Linked DNA regions of Homo sapiens: all the other regions are linked to region 7. The links are contacts of gene promoters, found by promoter capture Hi-C in human tissues and cell types (Jung and others, 2019). All regions are on one chromosome and are shown on one strand. The core of a region is centred on a gene start or on the middle of the fragment in contact, and the rest is flanking DNA. Distances in the headings are between cores, read along the strand shown. Region 1 overlaps RAPGEF1 (Rap guanine nucleotide exchange factor 1). Region 2 overlaps RAPGEF1 (Rap guanine nucleotide exchange factor 1). Region 3 overlaps RAPGEF1 (Rap guanine nucleotide exchange factor 1). Region 4 has its middle 23 kb from the start of FAM78A. Region 5 overlaps RAPGEF1 (Rap guanine nucleotide exchange factor 1). Region 6 overlaps PLPP7 (phospholipid phosphatase 7 (inactive)). Region 7 holds the start of POMT1 (protein O-mannosyltransferase 1).

Region 1 (2,700 bases), core at 60-2,559, 210 kb after region 7:
AAAAAAAAAAGAGGTTAAGAACTACTGATCTAGCCCAACTCATTACAATAAAATGGAGAAACTGAGGTCCAGAGAAAAAAGACCTTTCACAGGAGGCTAGAGGCCCCAAGTCACTGACTCCCATTGCAGTGCTCTCCCACAGCTAGCCCGCCGACCCACGTCTGCAGGGGATGTGTCAACAACTACATATGCTGGCTCCCATCCCACTGGCCACTGCTGCTGGATCCCACACGAGGCTGCTTCTATCCAGGCAGGCCTAGAAGGACAATCTACGGAAATGAACTGCAAAGTCACCAGCCCATCTTTCTTGTGCAACCTAATCTGCAAAACACAGGGGCTCAGAACCTGTCCCTTGCTTCAGATTTCAAGGACCCCCCCAATGATACAGTTTCTGGCTTTTCAAGAAGCTTCATGGATGAGGCTGGTTCACTGAAGGGCAATCAGGGCTCAGCATCCAGCCTTCTGAAGAAGCTGTTTACTTGTTGTTCTTTACAAAGTCAGGACTTGGCCAGGAACTAAACGTAGCCCTCAGTATGGGAAAGGGAGAAATTTGGAAGACTTGGTGGAAAGTCTAAATATGTAAGGAGAATGCTTCTTAAACCCCTGATGTGGCCAGGCACTATGGCTCATGCCTGTAATCCCAGCACTTTGGGAGGCAGAGGTAGGTTGATTACTTGAGCCCAGGCGTTTGAGACCTGCCTGGGCAACATGGCAAAACCCTGTCTCTACAAAAAAAGGAAAAACATAATTAGCTAAGCATTGTGTTATGTGTGTCTGTAGTCACAGCTACTCGGGGGGCTGAGGTGAGAGAATGGCTTGAGCCTGCGAGGCAGAGGTTGCAGTGAGCCAAGATCGCGCCATTGCACTCCAGCCCGGGTGACAGAGGCAGACCCTGTCTCAAAAAAATAAAATAATAAAAACCCCTCGATGCTTCCTGTAATACTAAAGGTAGAAGTCCTAAGTACGTGGATTGGCATTCAAGGCCTTTTGGAGTCTGGCCCCAAATTACCTTTCCCACCTTCATCTCCCACTTCCTCACACGGCGACTGGACACTGTGCATAGCCGTGCACCTGCCTGCCTGCACTGTAGCTCCTGTCCCTCCTCTCCAGCGAGTCAAAGGAAACCTCACAGCCAACATCCAGTGGACTCTCAAAGATCAGTGTTGAGGGTCCCACAGCCTCGGGTCCCACAGCCTCTGCTTCACTTGGACCATGGCAGTATTGGAAGGGGTAATGCCCGCACTGGGGAAGACTCCAGCCCCTCTCCTGGCCAGCCCGCTGACCTCAGCCTCCAGGCTGTGATGCCTCTGCCCTTTACAACTCCCCGCCTCCAGATAAACTTGACAGAGCCACTCACTGCTGATGGCCCTCTGCACTGAGCTGCATGAGGATGAACACGGTCACAGCCTGCACTCTGGCTGTGCTCCTCAAGCTTGTAAAAATGCACCTGTCTCCCTTAAGAGGTGTGGAGTCCATACACAATGGGTACTCACTATCCACTGAACAAAAATTAGTGAGCGTCAGCTATGTGCCAGGCACCATTCTGGGCTCTGGTGAAATAGCAGCCGACAGGGAGCTTACCTCCCAATGAGGGAAAATATCATAAAAAAGAAGCAAATAGGCCAGGCGCGGTGGCTCACACCTGTAATCCTAGCACTCTGGGAGGCCAAGGCAGGCAGATTGCCTGAGCTCAGGAGTTCAAGATCAGTCTTGGCAACATGGTCCCTGTCTCTATTAAAAACACAAGATATTAGCGAGGCATGGTGGTGCATGCCTGTAATCCCAGCTACCGGGGAGGCTGAGGCAGGAGAATCGCTTGAACCCAAGAGGTTGCAGTGAGCCAAGACTGCACCACTGCACTCCAGCCTGTGCAACAGAGTGAGACTGTCTCAAAAAAAAAAAAAAAAGGCTACATTTAAAGGGGGAAAAAGAGCGGGGGATGAGGGACAGAAAGTGATGCGCACCCTATCTGTTATTCTGGGCCCAGTGGTTAGGGCTGACCTCTCTGGGTGGCATCTGAACAAAGATGTGAGGCAGCTAGGGATAGGGAGCAAAGGACACAGGAAGAGGAACTCATGTTTGCCCAGTTCTTCCAATCGAGTACTCCCCAGCATGAACTCACCAAAACCCTACCGCAGGATCCATCTTATCAATGAGAAACTGATTTTTAAAAGGAGATGGGTGAGCAACTTTTCCCAAGATCACATGATCAGCAAACGGTGGCACCAGCAGCCTTTAAACCGTGGCTCTTGTCCATGGCTTCTCAGCAGGTGCCCTACAATATCTGGGGAATGAATGTTCCAGTAAGAGAACGGCAAGTGCAAAGGCTCTGAGGGAAAGGAACACCTGGAAGAAGAGCACAAAAGCCAGTGTGGCTGGGACACAGTGACGGGGAGAGGGGTGTCAGGGAGTGAGTTAAGGGCCAGAGTCCAGGGCGCACACAGGCCACGTCGAGGACCTCGGATCGCTTCACATGTGTGGGGAAGCCCCAGGCAATCATAAAGAGGATCCATGTGATCCAGTTCACACTCTGGCTGTGAAATGCAGAATGAATGGCTGTGAGTTGGGAGAAGAAACCAAGAAGCCGGTTAGGAAGGCATGGGGCAGTCCAGGGAGAAACGGCGGTGGCCTGGAGTAAGGGGTCAGCAGAGGAGGTACTAAGAAGGACCAGTCAGGATTTATTGGAGTAAATCGCAGGGG
Region 2 (2,700 bases), core at 143-2,642, 140 kb after region 7:
TCAGAGGTCTAGAGGATATAAATAAAAACTGAGGGCAAGAAGATAATTTCTAGAAAAAGGTGATTTAAACAATATACAGACAAACAAATGGTAGAAATTAATAAAAAGTGCTTATGATTCTGAATACTAGCTCTTTTCTTCTAAAATAGTGCCGATTGGCCAGGTGAAGTGGCTCACACCTATAATCCCAGCACTTTGGGAGGCCAAGGTGGGCAGATCACTTCAGCCCAGGAGTCAGGACCAGCCTGGGCAACATAGTGACACACCGTCTCAATTAAAAAAATAAAGTTTAAAAAAAGGTGCAGAATATCATTTTAAATATAAAAATGTTCAATAGTAGAGGCTTTTATTTCATGGGAATGTCAAAAGAAAAATATATAAATGGCTACTTTAGTCAGACAATGCACAAAAGACCCAGTCATTTCTTTCATTGAGTCTTTCCCACAAGGTGTCCTGCAGACTAGAAGACACAATTCTCCCATGGTGGGGGAAGTGCCCTTCCTCATCCCCATCCCTGGGTCCTGCACCCTGGCTTTATTTTTCTCTTTTCACTACCTGACAGATTTGTTTACGGTCTGTTTCCAAGAGGCTGGGCGCTTACTTTTCCACCTCGTGGACAAGAGCTCTCTGCTTCATGTCATCTGCCCGGGGCAGGGAGGAACCTGAGTGTGAAGGAGTCGCAGTGCCGACAGACCTCAGATGTGCCTAAAGCCATGGTCAACCAGGCAAGAAGAGGACTATGACAGTAACACTGCCACCTTAGCACATCAGAAAGTGTTAGAGACCAGCAATGATGAAACTTGCTGAGGAACAGGAAACATTTTAAGAAAATGTGTCATCAGGTCACACAGGGAGAAAGTGGCTAATCTGAAGATGGGAGGCACTCGAAAGTGGCAAGGCACTTCAGAGCAGAGAGTTTTTCTGTCATTGCAGAGAGATCAAATCAGCTGTTTAAGAGTCAGGCTGTCCTGGGCTCCTCCTAAAGGAGCCAACAATGTAGCACAGCCAGGCTGCCTCCGTGAACTCAGATTCTACTCCCAGAATTAATGGCCTCTGGGTGTTGTGCATTCTCCAGCCTTTCAGCTGTCAAGCTGGGGATCCTTGTGAATGCAGCCAGCAGTGAGAGTTCACAGCCACACAGCCACATCCAGCACTGGCTCGGACTGGGGACTCCATGCCTTGGCTTTGCTGAAGCTGCCTCGCTGCATAACCCGAGGGCAGGTGCGTTCACCTGCGCACCCCTCCTGCTGTGGGGGATGGATTGCCATCATTGGTCCACATAAGCCTGGAAACTAAATGAGGCTGTCCGTGTCTGGGGATGGCTTAGAGACAAAGCCAACTGCTGGGCTTTGGGCTTGTCACCCACAAAATGGGGAGAATAACATCTGCCCCGTGTAACTAAAGAGGTGACTGTGGGGGACTGAATGAGAAAGCATATGAAGTGGTTCACAACATTTAACAGGCACTATACCAACACCAGAGACCATATACCTGCCAGTAATAAAGCAGAGAAAGAGGGCCTAGGATGGGAACATCTGAAAGGGAAGAAAGAGGCCAGATCGTAGCTACCACTCATCGGGGACATGGAGGCACCCACTGTGCTATGGATTTTATATAGGCTATTTTGTTTAAAGGTTACAACCACCCTGTGAAGTGGATACTATTATTTCACAGGTGGGGAAACTGAGGCTTAGTGGGACGTGGGGGAGGTTAAGCAACTTGCCTAAGGCCACACAGCTGTAGTGACAGATATGGAATTTGAACTTGGTCTGTCTGAGTTCAGAGCCTGGAGAGATAGAGAGGAGAATAAAGACCAGATCAGAAATGTGCTGAAGTTAAAAAGTTTACTTGAGATCCCCTGGTCAAAAAGATCTCATTTAACAAACGAGTAAACTAAGACCCCGATGGCAGAGATGGACATAAAATCCCCATCGCCTTTCCTGCCCCGTGGGCCATATTCATTTCTGACGCCCAGGCTGTGGCTCCACAGCCATGTGCTGCCACAGGAGATGGCGGGGAAGAGGGTGAGGAAAACTGGCCCTCCTCTCCAGACAGTTCTCTCCCCACAGCCGTGCCGCAGCCGGGACACCCGACTTGCTCTGTCACTCCTTGTCCCATCTGCAGCCTGGGTGCCTCCCCTCTCCACAGCAACATAAGCCTCATTTCCACACTATAGGACAGTGTACCCTGAAAATGTGGGTAAAGCCAGGGAGTGAGGGGGAGGGCAAGTCACAATCAGTATAATAAAAAACTAGAATTGCAGGATTAAAAAAAAAATGGCAATGCAACATTATTCCTATTAGTCCAGAACAGTGAGGCCTAGCAAGAAGACATGTCGAACACAGACATTGGTTACAATGAGAGCACCAAATCACCACCTGCCACCAGGCTGTCCGGCAGCAGCATCTCCCTGGAAGAGCTGAAGGGGAAAGGCTTTCAGGAATCCACCCAAGAGCACTCGGATCCAATCTCTGTCCAAATGCCCTCAGAGATGGGGCATTAACACCTCCCAGGACCCCCTGCTCACTGCTCATTGTAATTATACCTTTGGACACCCAGTATATGGCTAAATTTCCTCTACAACTTCAACACTCTGCAGCTCACTGCTAGACTTGTTAAAAGGTTGCAAAAAAGTTTAGAAGTTCATCACAATGTACTTTGAATTTTTAAATTCACTAAGAAGATGCAAGAGACTGCTAA
Region 3 (2,700 bases), core at 61-2,560, 170 kb after region 7:
GAAGGCCCCAGCCCAGCAGGGTCAGCTGAACAGGTGACCTGACTCAGGGAGGGCAAGAGCCAGGGGCTGGGCGAGGCTGTGGAGGAGGGCTCTGCGGGAGCAGGGAGCCCGGCAGCTTCCTGCGGGTGCCGGGACGTGCCGTCCACAGGGTTCACCATGTGTTTTTTTCTTCACCGGCCATGAGAAAGGATTAATTCAGAAATCTAAAAATGGTCCCCAACAGGCTGAGAAGCCAAACACCCACAAGCCACCTTCCACTAAGAGACGAATTACCAATGTACTGGTGGTCCTGATGTCTAGATAAAAATGAATTCCCCAACCATGTCTTACAGCAAATTGCCACAAGGCAAAATCCAAAGTAAGCACACACCATTATCCTGCCCCTGTACCAGGAAAGCCCCCAGGGAATGAAGGTAGAGAAGAGGAATTTAAGGCAAGGGTTAGTCAGGAGCTAGTCTACTTCTTGCTCCTCAAAAGATAGCCTGTAATTTACTGAGCACTTACTATACGCCAGCCCTGACAGGCAGACATTAATTGCCATTTTGCAGATGAAGAAACTAAAGCTCAGAGAAAAGAACTAGGTGCAAAGTCACAGCATGATTGGGAAACAGCCTGAACTCGAACTGCTCAGTTTGACAAAAACTCAGTCTTTTTTTTTTTTTTAATCTCGCCCTGTGGCCCAGGCTGGAGTGTAGTGGCATGGTCGTAGCTCACTACAGCCTTGAACTCCTGGGCTCAAGTGATCCTTCCACCTTGGCCTCTCAAAGTGCTGGGATTATAGGCTGGCCTCACAGTCTTAATCATGACAATAAAGTGCCTTCCTTAAGTGGAGCCAGTGGCCATGTCTTTTAGAATGGGGAGGTGGGCACCAACAGTGCAATGGAAAGGATGTAAAAGAAAACCGTGGACAGAAGGTGGCCACAATAACCTCCTTCTGCCCAAACTGAACAGCTTCTGAGGTGGGCATGGGCAGCCGCTGGGGGTTCTTCCCAGCGCACCCTGAGGAAAGGGGCAAGGGCTGTGAGGAAGTGAAGGGTCCCTCAAGTGTGCTCCCCTCACCCCAATCTCAGTGCCCACCATGGGACATGGGAATCACCTGTGTGGGGGACTGAGTCCCCTTCAAGGCAGCTGAGCCCCAAGCACCCCGGCTGTGCTAAGATCTCCAAGATGGGCAAGAAAATCTGGGGACACAACTGCCAAACAATGAGAAAACTTAACTTGGCTCCCAGCCCAACCACGTCCTTTGATGGGTAGCAGATGCCACAAAGAGTGGCTGGTGCAGCTAACACATACCTGGAACGACACCTCCTGTCCTCTTGTTCTGTTCCAAGGTTGTCAGGCTGGGACGAAATCCCAAGAAAGAAATGGGCATGTGGTCACTATCATAGCAGACTGCCAGTTAGGGACATCAGAATATATTTCTCTGTCCTCAAGTTAGGAAGTGAGAGGACAAACCTGGCCTTCTGTGTTGTTTCAGCCACTAATTGGTTTTGTCAATTAGGCAAAACATAATTTCTCTAAGCCTCTTTTCTCATCCACAGGCATTAGCCTAGTCAGCGGTTCTCAAAGTGTGGTCCTGAACCAACAACGACGGCAGCTTCACCAAGAGACTTCTTAGAAATGCAAATTCTTGGGCCCATGCCACACCTACAGAAGCAGACACTCTGGGGGTAGGCCCAGCAATCTGTTTTAACAAGCTCTCCAGGTGATTCTGATACACAGTAAGTTGGAAGACCACTGGCCTAGCTGATGTCCCTTTTTATTGTTTTAGAAACCATCCTTCCTTACGGCCTCCTATCTGTAGTGCTACTGACTTCATTTACCCCAAACAAATATTTACAAAGTTTCTACTATGTGCTAGGAACTGGGGACACCAGGGGAACTTACACGTCTGCTTTGTGTTTAAGTTCTCATCACAATAAACGTGCACGCAGCTTGTTGGCTGGTTGTTCACTGAGTAAGCAGCACAACTGTATTTTCCAGCAACTTGCCTCTTTAGCCATGATCTTCTTCCAAAACTTACTGTACTTTTAAAATTAAAGAGCTCTGCATGCAAGTAGAGATGCAATGTGCTAACAAATACAATGTTACTGTATTGCTGATGATAAAAGAAAGAGATTATGGATGTCCAATTAACATAAGCACAGGAATCAACTGGAAAATTTCTAGAAGGAAATATAGAAAAGAGTAACACAGACAACATTCCTTTCTCCTAAAACTATTTTAGTGACTCACAGTGCTCACGGGTCTTGAATGTTATTCTAGGCACAAAATAACAAACACCAAGTGACATTTTTAGCAGTCCATTTTGCTTCAGGATATATACACAGGAAATGCAAAAGCAAAAACAAAAGCTAAAATGCTCTACCCTAAGAGGAAAGACGCAACCAAACTACCATAATATTAAAAACAGGACTAAAATTAGCTTCCTCCCTTACGCTTAAGGGTCTTACTAAAAACATCTGCCAACAGCTTTTCTTCCTCTCTCCTCTGCTCAAGCAGACCAGGGAAGGCAAATGAAACAGGCTCAGAAGACAAACAAGCGGCCAGCTGCTGCAGAGCTCGGCCTTAACACGAGTCTTGGTCTGCATCAATCCCACAAAGATTCACTCCAGGCCAGAACTAAATTCTCCTAAGTCAAAACTACATCATGGGATTTGACCCTTTTGAGTAGAAGCAGAAATCAGAGTTCTCACCCAG
Region 4 (2,700 bases), core at 55-2,554, 250 kb before region 7:
GGAACCCTCCTCCCTGTGAGGAAAGCGTAACCCTGTCTTGCAGATGAGGAAACCGAGGCTCAGTGGTGCCGCCGAATCACTCGGATTTGCTAAGCGCTTACTCTGGGCTGGGCACTTGTCCAGAAGCTCAGGACCATCGGCTTCACGTGCCTCCGCAATCTCGTGAGGTGAGGAACCACCTCCGTCCCCACTCCATGTCCTAGGAAACCGAGACCTGAGAGGAGGGGGACTTGCTCAAGGTCACAGCCGTAGAGGCACCGCCCGCCCAGGAGGGCTCACATGACCCTCTCCGGCCTCCAGGCCCAGCTGCAAGAGGAAGCACCGTCCTGGGGAGCCCGGAGACCCAGGCCCCCCTCACAGGCGAGGGGCTGGCACGCGGCCTCTGGAGGAACTTCTGGCCTTCACCGTCTCCGCCTGGTCACTCGTCAATGGCCGGCTGCCTTCTGGAAAGCTGCTGCTGCGCGACAGTGACCCTGGGTGGAGTGAGGCATCCACGGGTGCTCGCTCCCAGAGATGGAGGCCGGAGCCCTGAGCAGAGGCGCCGGCTGTGCCCCGGTCCTCTGTGGCCCCCAGGGCTGCAGAGCTGGGCAGGTCGATTCCCTTGTCACTCCTAAAAGAACATTTGAAGCCCCCAGCAGGCTGGTGTGGGCACCCCAGTTCCTCAGCTACTCTGGGCTCTCCTTCCCCAGAGGCTGTGGGACCTGCCTTCCGGCCTCCGTCACATGACCGCACAGCGAGGAGGCGCTTCTGTGAACCAGGAGGTGGCCCTCACCACGCAGAAACTGTGGGCGCCTTCATCTTGGACTTCCAGCCTCCAGAACTGTGAAGGATTGGTTTCTGTGGTTGACGAGGCATCCGGTCTATGGTTACTTTATTCTAGAGCCCAACTGGGCCAAGGTGATTGTACGTATCTGTGAATATACTAAAACCATAGAACCGTACACTTTCTATTTGCTTTTATTTTGTGAGACAGGGACTCACTGTCGCCCAGCTGGAGTGCGGTGGCACGATCAGGGCTCGCTGCAGCCTCGACCTCCCACCTCATTCTCCTGAGTAGCTGGGATGACGAGAATGTGCCACCGCGCCCAGCTAATTTTTGTTGTTGTTGTTAGCTTTTTGAGATGGAGTCTCACTCTGTCACCCAGGCTGGAGTGCAGTGGCACAATCTCGGCTCACTGCAACCTCTGCCTCCCGGGTTCAAGCAATTCTCTGACTCAGCCTCCCGAGTAGCTGGGGTTACAGGCGCCCGCCATCACACTCAGCTAATTTTTGTATTTTTAGTAGAGACAGGGTTTCTCCCTCTTGGCCAAGCTGGTCTTGAACTCCTGACCTTGTGATCCACCTGCCTCAGCCTCCCAGAGTGCTGGGATTACAGGCATGAGCCACTGAGTCTGGCCTATGCCTGGCTAATTTTTAAGTTTTTTTGTAGAGATGGGGTCTCACTATGTTGCCCAGGCTGGTCTCAAACTCCTGAGCCCAAGATCCTCCCACTTCGGTCTCCCAGAGTGCTGGGATTACAGGCAGGAGCCACTGCACCGGCCAGAACCGTACACTTTTTTTTTTTTTTTTAAATGGAGTCTTTGTCACCCAGGCTGGAGTGCAGTGGTGCAATCTCACTGTAACCTCTACCTCTCAGGTTCAAGTGATTCACCTGCCTCAGCCTCCTGAGTAACTGGGATTACAGGCGTGTGCCACCATGCCCTGCTAATTTTTGTATTTTTTTCAGTAGAGACAGGAGTTCGCCATGTTGACCAGGCTGGTCTTGAACTCCTGACTTCAGGTGATCTGCCCGCCTTGGCCTCCCAAAGTGCTGGGATTACAGGCAGGAGCCACCACACCCAGCCAGAACCGTACTTTAAATAGGTGAGTTGTGTGGTATGTGAACTGTATCCCAATAAAGCTGAGGTAAAGCATTTTAATACGTTTGTGTGACTGTCTGACCAGCATTCAGTCTGCATTTGTCATGGATGCTGAGAATCCCACATCACTAAGCCAGGCCCCTGTGGTCTAGATGTTGCAGAAGAATTGAGCCGTATTTAGAGAGAAGAGTCCCTGGTCTCTGAGCTAAGCCCTGGTGCTCAGTGTGATTATTCTGGGGGCTCCATTTGCATGTTTAACACGGAGCACAACTGCTATGCCTTTGCTGGGCCCCGGACCGGGGAGGACAGGGTAAGTGTGCGTGTCTCTGGCCTGACGATTAGGAAACTCAGGCATGTGAGGTTGAGCGACAAGCCTGGCCTCACTCAGCAAGGCAAGTGGCAGCCAGGAATAGTGCAGGGCTCCCAGCTGTGTCTGGCCCGCCGTAAACACCCACCCTTCTTCTGTCTGATTGAAAAGGGAACATGAAATAAGAACCAGGGCTCAGGCTGATACAGGAACTAATCCTGCCTCTGCATTCCAAGTCGTGCCGTCTGGGCCTGAAGGGAGCTGGGCTGGCCTTCGCCAGTTCCCATGTTGATTTCGGGTTCACCTCCCTGCACACAGGCACAGAGATGGAGTTCATTCACTCCGACGTGTTCGCTTGCATTTAGTAGTTTCCATCGGCCGGGCGCAGTGGCTCAAGCCTGTAATCCCAGCACTTTGGGAGGCCGAGGCGGGCAGATCACTGAGGTCAGGAGTTCGAGACCAGCCTGGCCAACGTGGTGAAACCCCATCTCTACTAAAAATATAAAAATTAGCCGGGCGTGGCGTGGAGCGCCT
Region 5 (2,700 bases), core at 153-2,652, 200 kb after region 7:
CTGAAATTTATCGAGGGCTAACTCTATGCCAAGTATTGTCAAGCATTCTCGTATTCACGCCTCATATGCTAAGGCAGGTGTAATTAGTTGCCTTCATTTTACAGATGAGCAAATTGAGGCTGACGGAAATTAAGTAATTTCCCCTGGATTACACTGATACATAAGTAGCGGGGCTATTTTCTCTTAGCAAACTACATAAAAAAATAAAGAGCAACTCTGCATCCTGAATGTCATGCCTGAGATGAGCTTGCTGAAAGCGCAGCAGAGACAGCAGCCCTCTGCTGGCCCAGGCTTCTCCTCCATCCCTTCTCGCTCCCTCCCTTCCTCACACTCAGCTGGCTGGGATCCCAACCCAGGGACTCCAAGAAGGGCCCAGCTCCGGGCTCCCTATGTAAGCAAGGTCACAGAGACTTGAAATGGGTGATTGAACCTAATTACTCACTGCTCTGCTCCCTCTATCCAAAGAGAGCTTGAAAACATTTTCACTGAGGTCTTTGCTGAGATTGCAGACTCAGCACAGGACCTGCCTCCTGCTTTCCTAAATGAGCGAAGTGGCTTGCAGCGGCTCTAGCTCTGGGGCCAACAAGGTTTTGACGCTTGAATTAGGAGAGGGCAGAGAGAAGGCTGCAGCTCTTGCAGCAAAATGCAGGGCTGTCAGGTATACACCCAGGACACACTGCAGCCACTGCAACAGAACAGAACTGAGCTCTAGGCCACGGGTTTCCTAGGCGGACATAAAGAGATCTCACTCTCCCTGAATGGCCTTGGAGATGGCTCAAAGTGTCCACTCTTCCCAGATTCTTGCACCTGAGGGTACAGGACTTGCTCAAGACTATACAGCCAGTGTCAGAGACAAAGTTCACTGATGCTAATTCAAATTTTCCCACATTTTGGATTCTGCTCTTGGAAAGCTTGAAGTCCAGTTGGTTGAAAAGACAGTTGATGATGACAAGTTCTGGAGGGAAGAGGACCTGGGCAGAGGGAACCTGGACTAGAGGCTGAGTGTACCTGTGTCAGGGCCAGAAAGAGAGGGGCCAGGATAAAGGCAGACAGAGGAAGTCAGAGGCCTGGAACAAAGTGGGGCGTGAAGGGGAACATGTGTGACTATCTGGACAGGAGAGTCAGCTGACCAAGGACAAGGGCAAAGACTGTCAAAGGGCACTGAGGGACCAGCTGAGAGCAGAGACATGAATCTGTGTCAATAACACACCACTGTGACCTCAAAGGGATTCTCATAAATACAGCTGTCCAATCCCCGCACAGTAAACATGCAAGCCACAACAAGATGATCACCTCCCTCAGTCCACCCTGATTATGAGATAATCATCATCCACAAAAATATTATTCCCATGCCTAACAAGCAAAGGGAGGAGGGGCCCTCTAGTCTGCCCTTGTAAACAGACACTTGCAGGAAGGGAAAATAGGGAAGAAAGGGGCTTTGACGTCAGAGACCAGTTTAGGTCCCAATTCTGCCACTTACTAGCTGCATGATCTTGAGCAAGTTACTGGATGCTCAGTGACCTGGTTTTCTCATCTGTAAAATCACAATCATACTACCTACCCCAAAGAACTCTTGTGATGATTGAAAGCAACATGCTTAGCTCACAGACAGCTGTGACAAATTGTTTGCAGTAATGGCCAAACGATTCCCTGCTCCTCATACCCACAGCTTGGCAAGATGACTTTGCACTCTCCTGTTAGAAGGGCGGGTAGAAGGAGGGGGCAGGTCTCTCTCTCCCTTCCCCTTGAATCTGGGCTGGCCTGTGGCCTGCTTTAGCCAATGAAATAAAGTAGAGGTAACTGTGCGGCTTCTGACCTGGGGCCTCAGGGCTGCCCCCCTTCCCCGACCAGGTGAGCAACCCCACTACGGGAGGGACCCTGGGCTAGCCTGCTGGAGGCCCAGGGATAAGCCCTCCCAGCAGCTGATTGTAGACACTTGAGGAACCCTAGGCAAGACCAGGAGCCCAGCAGCCCAGCCTGAACTGCCAGCTGCAGAAGTGTAAACTAGGTGCCCAGTTGTTATTTAAGCTCCCTAAATAGCGGGGTGATTTGTCAGCAAGGACTGTAAATACTCAATGCACCACAGCTGATAATCAGGACTTCTCTCTCGTCCGGCAATTCTCCTGGTCTTGAGCGATGTTTCCATCTCTACCAGGTCATTCCCATCAGCATTCAACCTTGCCATTATTTCACCCTTTATGAAAAAACTTTCCCTTGACCGCAATACCCTTAACAACTACCACCTTGTGTCTTCACTCCCGCTTTCAGCAAAACTCCAAGAACGCCCATGCTCCCTGTGGCCAATTCTCCTCTGCTCATTCTTTGACACTTTCACACCCAACACTCCACTGACACTTTTTTTTTTTTTTTTTTTTCTGAGGTGCAGTTTTGCTCTTGTTGCCCAGGCTGGAGTGCAATGGCGTGATCTTGGCTCACTGCAACCTCTGCTTCCCAGGTTCAAGTGATTCTCCTGCCTCAGCCTCCTGAATAGCAGGGATTACAGGCATGTGCCACCATGCCTGGCTAATTTTGTATTTTTACTAAAGACAGGGTTTCTCCATGTTGGTCAAGCTGGTCTCAAACTCCCGACCTTAGGTGATCCGCCCGCCTCGGCCTCCCAAAGTGCTGGGATTACAGGCATGAGGCACTGCGCCTGGCCCCACTGACACCTCTTGTCAAGGTCTCCAGTGACCACTATGT
Region 6 (2,700 bases), core at 183-2,682, 200 kb before region 7:
CCGAGATCATGCCACCACACTCCAGCCTGGGCAACAGAACGAGACTCCATCTCAAAAAAAAAAAGAAAGAGAAGATGAACAAATAGTGGTCCATCCATACAGTGGAATATTATTCGGCCATGAAAAGGAATGAAGCGCTGCCACATGGGTGGATGCTGGAAACATTATGCTAAGGAAAGGAAGGCAGACACAAAAGGCCACATGCTGTCTGATTCCATTTACATGGAGTGTCTAGAGGAGGCAAATCCTCTAGAGGAAAGCAGATTGGTGGTGTCCCAGGGGCTGGAGAGAAGGGGATGGGGAGTGGCTGCTTCGTGGGTATGGGGCATTCTTTTGGGATGATGAAATGTTTTGAAATTAGAGAGAGGAGGTGGCTGCTGACATTGTGATGTGCTGAATGCCGCTGAAGCGTGCACTCTAAAATGGTTCACTGTACAAGATGTAAATTTTGCTTCAATTTTTGAAAAATGGGAATGGGGCTGGGCACAGTGGCTCACGCCTGTAATGGGTGAACACTTGGGGAGGCTGAGGCGGGCAGGTCACCTGAGGCCAGGAGTTGGAGACCAGCCTGGCCAACATGGCAAAACCCCATCTCTACCAAAAATACAAAAAATTAGCCAAGCATGGTAGTGTGCACCTGTAATCCCAGCTACTCGGGAGGCTGAAGTATGAGAATTCCTTGAACCCAGGAGGTGGAGGTTGCAGTGAGCCAAGATCAGGCCACTGCACTACAGCCTGGGCAATAGAGCAAGACCCTGTATCAAAAAAAAAAAAAAAAGGAAAAAGGGCCGGGCGCAGTGGCTCATACCTGTAATCCCAGCACAATGGGAGGCTGAGGCGGGTGGATCACCTGAGGTCAGGAGTTTGAGACCAGTCTGTCCAACATGGCAAAGCCCCATCTCTACTGAAAGTACAAAAATTAGCTGGACGTGGTGGTGGGTGCCTGTAATCCCAGCTACTCAGGAGGCCGAGGCAGGAGAATCGCTTGAATCCGGGAGGCGGAGGTTCCAGTGAGCCAAGATCTCACCTCTGCACTCCAGCCTGGTTGACAAAGTGAAACTCTGTCTCAAAAAAAAAAAAAAAAAAAAAAAAAAAAAAAAACCCAAAGAAATAAAATGCGTATTATGTCAGGGCATGAGAAAAGCTGTATGAAAAAATTAAACAAGGTGAGGGGAGACAGCGTGGTGGGGGCTTTTTACAAACAGCGTGGTCAGGGAAGGCTTCTCCGCTAAAGGAAGTAGCTACAGGAAGGCAGGATGTGCCGGGCAGGGGAGACAGCAAAGGCAACAGCCTGAGAGGGGACCCTGCCTGGGGGTCAGTGTGGCTGAGTGGCCTGAGTGAGGAGCAGAAAGGGGAGGCGAGGTGGAAATGTGGGGGGCCAGGGCCTGGGCCTGGCTGGTGGCCCTGATGGCCCAGGGGCCTCTGTCTCCCCCCAACAGCCCTGCTCCTGGACATCATGACGGTGGCCGGCGTGCAGAAGCTCATCAAGCGGCGCGGCCCGTACGAGACGAGCCCCAGCCTCCTGGACTACCTCACCATGGACATCTACGCCTTCCCGGCCGGGCACGCCAGCCGCGCCGCCATGGTGTCCAAGTTCTTCCTCAGCCACCTGGTGCTGGCGGTGCCCCTGCGTGTGCTGCTGGTGCTCTGGGCCCTCTGCGTGGGCCTGTCCCGCGTGATGATCGGCCGCCACCACGTCACGGACGTCCTCTCCGGCTTTGTCATCGGCTACCTCCAGTTCCGTCTGGTGGAGCTGGTCTGGATGCCCTCCAGCACCTGCCAGATGCTCATCTCTGCCTGGTGAAGCGCCCGCCGGCCCACACAAGCCTCTGGGGGCAGGGCTGGCCCTAGAGAAGGGGCAGGGGGTGGCGAGGTGGCGGGCGTGGGTGGAACAGAGCGGCCAGGAGTCAGAGCGGCCACCCCCACCTCATCTTCCCCTCCTGGCTGGAGGCTGGCGAACCCAGGCCACCCCTCCCGGAGACAAGCGTGTTTGGCAGTGCCAGGCCTCTTGCCCCTTTGCTTGGACTCCAAGTCTCCTCTCTAGGCAGCCAGGACCCACCCATGGGGACAGCCCTATTTAGCTTCTGCTCTGGGAACAGCAAAAATCAGGATGGTGGGAGGGGCCGAGTCTTGTCTTGTCCTTTCATCATCATGACTGTTGAGTTCTTGGCTGTGCCCATCACGCCACAGCACGACGCCTGCCAAAATGCCCCCAACCTACTGCCTGATGCAGGTGCCATTGCCATTAGCGGTCATCGACAGCTTAGGGCAGCACTTTCCAACGGGTGCCCATGGGACACCAGCCTGCGAGATGCTTTTGGGGGAAAGGGGTTTTGTGGTTCAATAACTTTCGGAAGTGCTGCACACTCTGTCCCCAAGTTGGACATTCACAAAGGCCGTTATTGCCGTAAAGGCTCTGACAAGCCCTATAGAAAAGCTTCTTGCTAAACCTTCTTTAACCCATGTTTTCTAAACTTATTTGACCACAGAACCCTTTTCTTGGGGAACAGCTATTAACCCCCAAGGAATTATTGGTTCCTCAAGTGCGTTTTGGGAGCTGCTGCCAGAGAGCTAAAGGGCCTGGGGTGTGAGCTGACTCTCCTCTGGGGAGGCCGGGTGCACACGCCACAGCCCGAGGAAAGTGCTGGCCACCGCCCGTGGGCATCGATGAGGCTTTGGCCCCCAGGGGCCGGACTCCGT
Region 7 (2,700 bases), core at 105-2,604:
TCCAAAGCAGGCCTTTGGGAAGGCTCTTGACCCTCAGCAGAGGGGGCTGGAGAGGCTGATGGATGAGGAGGAGCCCTGGGAATGGAGGAAGAAGCCTCCAGTCTTCTGCCACGGAGTTTAGGGGAGATGCCCCCACTGGAGCCTCTGATGGTCATGCAGCCCCCACTGATGTCCAGGTTTTTTTGGTTTTGTTTTTTGTTTTGAGACGGTCTCACTTTGTAGTCCAGGCTGGAGTGCAGTGGTGAGACCAAGGCTCACTGCAGCCTCGACCTCTCTGCCCCAAGTGATCTCCTGCCTCAGCCTCCCTTGTAGCTGGGACTGCAGGCAGACGCCAAGGGGCCCCGCTAATTTTTGTATTTTTTTGTAGAGACGGGGTCTCGCTGTGTTGCCCAGGCTCTCCTGGACTCAAGCGGGCTCACGGATCCTCCCACCTCGGCCACCCAAAGTGCTGGGGTTACAGGCGTGAGCCACCGCCCCCGGCCCTAGGTCCGTTTTAAATGCCCTTACCCTCAGCCACTTCACCGCTAGATGTATGTGCAAGCAGGATCGTGGCATCGATGTTTTTCGGCAAGGAAACTAGGAGCGCCCGCGGGCGTGGGGGCACGTGCCTGTGGTCTCAGCTGCTCTGGAGGCCGAGGAGGGAGGATCGCTTCGGGCAGAGAGGTCGAGGCTGCAGCAAGCCGTGGTCCTGCCACTGTACTCCAGCCTGGGCGACAGAGCGAGACCCCGTGTCTTAAAAAAAAAATTAAGGTCGGACGCAGTGGCTCACGCCTGTAATCCCAGCACTTTGGGAGGCCGAGGTGGGCGGATCACTTCAGGTCAGGAGTTCGAGACCAGCCTGGCCAACATGGTGAAACCCTGTCTCTACTACAAATACAAAAATTAACCGGGCGTGGTGGCGTGCGCCTTCAATCTCAGCTACTCGGGAGGCTGAGGCAGGAGAATCGCTTGAACCCGGGAAGCGGAGGTTGCGGTGAGCCGAGATCGCGCCATTGCACTCCAGCCTGGGCAACAAGAGCGAAACTCCGTCTCAAAAAAAAAGAAAAGAAAAGAAAAGAAAAAAACTAGGAGCAAACTGGCGCGCCCGGCAGAACGCCGTTGTGCAGACGCAGAATTAAGATCTTCACGCCAGATGGAGTGAAAAAGCAAGGAGCAGAAGATGGGTGGGAGCCCACTGCGCTTTTTAAAATCTGCACGTCTGCTTAGAGTACACAGAAATCCTGGCACACAAAACAGTAGCACCCGAGAGAGGGGAGGTCGCCGCGTTTCACACCTGCCTCTCCTCCGGGACCGGCGCCCTCGCCCGCTGCGCACGCGCGTCACCCTCTCCCAGTGCGCACGCGCGCTGCTGCCCGTCTGGCCCCGCAGGCTCGGTGAATCGAACGTTGAGCAGGGCGGTGGGTGGTGCGGAGTGCCGAGCGGCCTCACCCCCAACCGTCGGCCCAGTCGGACGGTTCCGAGGCGTTGCCGGGAGCCGGGCGCGGCTCTGTGTGGACTCGGAGAAACGCGGGTACATTTGGGGACACCGGGGACGAGAGCCCAGCCCGGACTTGGGGGAGTCCGTCAGTGCCGGACGCGGGTCCCTGGCTTGCGGACGGGCTGGGGCCGGGGGCGTCCCCGTCTTTCCGGAGCTGGGGGCGGGGTTCGGGCCCGGGCAGATGCGGCGTTCGGGCGGCCGAGCCCCGAAGTAAGAACTCCGTGGCGCGTGCAGCCCTAGGGAGGAAGGGCGTGCTGCGGGTGCAGTCTCAGGGTGAGGACGGAGCTGGGGCCGACGCAGCCTCGGGAGTTGGTGGACGGGACAGGTGCGGCCTGTGGGGAAGAAGGGCCGGCCAGGGAGATGCGGTCTGCAAGGGGAGAGGAGGCACTCCCAGGACAGATGGGACCTTTTGGGACGAAGGCGCTCAAGGCAGATGCAGCTCAGGGAGGGAAGGGCGCGTCCAGGGTAGATGGGGCCTGAGGAGACCAGCGGGGCGCCAACGGCCAGATGCGGCTTTGGTGTGAGACAGGGTGTCCCAGGCCTGATGCAGCCTCAAGAGAAGCGGAGCTCAAGGGAAGATGAAGCCTGGAGGAGAACGTGGGGGCGCAGGGTGCAAATGCACCCTCCAGGCGAGAAAGGGAGCACCCGGGGATGATGTGCCGCTGGGATAGAAGGCAGGGAGGCACTGGGGGCAGATGCATCCTTGAGGAGAGATGAGGAGGCCCCGAGGCTCGGCCAGGTTGGGGTCCCTGGGCTGTAAGCAGCTGAGATGGCACCCAGGAGCTGCCCAGGGTCAGGTAGCTGTGGCCGCACTGTGGGCTTCTGGTCGTCGGGGAGGGAGGGGAGAAACCCTGGCGTTCCTTAGCAGTGTTCTCGCGCCCAAGACGTGCTCGGCAGGTTTTGTGGAATGAGTTGTTGAAAGGAGTGAATGTCCAGTCCTGAGATCCCCTGAATTCCCACCCGAGTTCACTGCTAGTGCCCCTCACCCCACATGTCTACCTGAACCAAGGCTCCAGGAACTTCGGTCTTTCTCAGCAGCCCGGCTGTGCTGTGGTTCTCCTCGTGTGTCCGGGAGCCGGGTGGCTGGGGATCCCTTCTGTAGCCTCTCGTGAGCCCTCATGGACCACGGCTCCTCCCTTCTTTTCTAGGGCGTCTGCCTGAGCCCGCTTTTCTACAAGATGTGGGGATTTTTGAAGCGCCCTGTAGTGGTGACGGCTGACATC

What was found. The method cuts DNA at HindIII sites, captures the fragments that hold promoters and counts their contacts. A contact is called where the count stands out against the background at its distance.
Region 1: a contact is called between a fragment that was not itself captured here and the fragment with the promoter of POMT1 in region 7, in 3 of the 25 tissues and cell types used here (lymphoblastoid cells, mesenchymal stem cells and spleen).
Region 2: a contact is called between a fragment that was not itself captured here and the fragment with the promoter of POMT1 in region 7, in 3 of the 25 tissues and cell types used here (H1 embryonic stem cells, mesenchymal stem cells and spleen).
Region 3: a fragment that was not itself captured here is called in contact with the fragment with the promoter of POMT1 in region 7 in 3 of the 25 tissues and cell types used here (dorsolateral prefrontal cortex, mesenchymal stem cells and spleen).
Region 4: a contact is called between a fragment that was not itself captured here and the fragment with the promoter of POMT1 in region 7, in 1 of the 25 tissues and cell types used here (spleen).
Region 5: a contact is called between a fragment that was not itself captured here and the fragment with the promoter of POMT1 in region 7, in 4 of the 25 tissues and cell types used here (dorsolateral prefrontal cortex, ovary, pancreas and 1 more).
Region 6: a fragment that was not itself captured here is called in contact with the fragment with the promoter of POMT1 in region 7 in 1 of the 25 tissues and cell types used here (mesenchymal stem cells).

What each region holds. Positions count from the first base shown.
Region 1 is chr9:131,715,874-131,718,573 of GRCh38, forward strand. The region is part of intron 1 of RAPGEF1 (Rap guanine nucleotide exchange factor 1); the gene reads right to left. Among named protein-coding and RNA genes, the nearest start is that of RAPGEF1, 23 kb to the right of the region's middle. The HindIII fragment of the contact is 3,620 bases long and covers 1-2,700 here.
Region 2 is chr9:131,644,526-131,647,225 of GRCh38, forward strand. The region is part of intron 3 of RAPGEF1 (Rap guanine nucleotide exchange factor 1); the gene reads right to left. Among named protein-coding and RNA genes, the nearest start is that of RAPGEF1, 94 kb to the right of the region's middle. The HindIII fragment of the contact is 5,406 bases long and covers 1-2,700 here.
Region 3 is chr9:131,675,264-131,677,963 of GRCh38, forward strand. The region is part of intron 1 of RAPGEF1 (Rap guanine nucleotide exchange factor 1); the gene reads right to left. Among named protein-coding and RNA genes, the nearest start is that of RAPGEF1, 63 kb to the right of the region's middle. The HindIII fragment of the contact is 6,669 bases long and covers 1-2,700 here.
Region 4 is chr9:131,252,006-131,254,705 of GRCh38, forward strand. No RefSeq gene overlaps it. Among named protein-coding and RNA genes, the nearest start is that of FAM78A, 23 kb to the right of the region's middle. RefSeq lists a silencer at 609-925 and enhancers at 632-681, 1,877-2,378. The HindIII fragment of the contact is 9,598 bases long and covers 1-2,700 here.
Region 5 is chr9:131,696,885-131,699,584 of GRCh38, forward strand. All of the region lies in intron 1 of RAPGEF1 (Rap guanine nucleotide exchange factor 1), which reads right to left. Among named protein-coding and RNA genes, the nearest start is that of RAPGEF1, 42 kb to the right of the region's middle. The HindIII fragment of the contact is 5,701 bases long and covers 1-2,700 here.
Region 6 is chr9:131,306,484-131,309,183 of GRCh38, forward strand. It overlaps PLPP7 (phospholipid phosphatase 7 (inactive)), which reads left to right. Exons shown (of 2, transcript NM_032728.4): 2 at 1,440-2,700. The coding sequence ends at 1,804. Among named protein-coding and RNA genes, the nearest start is that of PLPP7, 18 kb to the left of the region's middle. The HindIII fragment of the contact is 3,885 bases long and covers 1-2,700 here.
Region 7 is chr9:131,501,564-131,504,263 of GRCh38, forward strand. POMT1 (protein O-mannosyltransferase 1) reads left to right here and starts at 1,355. Exons shown (of 20, transcript NM_001077365.2): 1 at 1,355-1,510; 2 at 2,626-2,700. The coding sequence starts at 2,656. RefSeq lists enhancers at 1,141-2,008, 2,009-2,700, 2,246-2,305 and silencers at 1,256-1,455, 1,526-1,675. The HindIII fragment of the contact is 15,044 bases long and covers 1-2,700 here.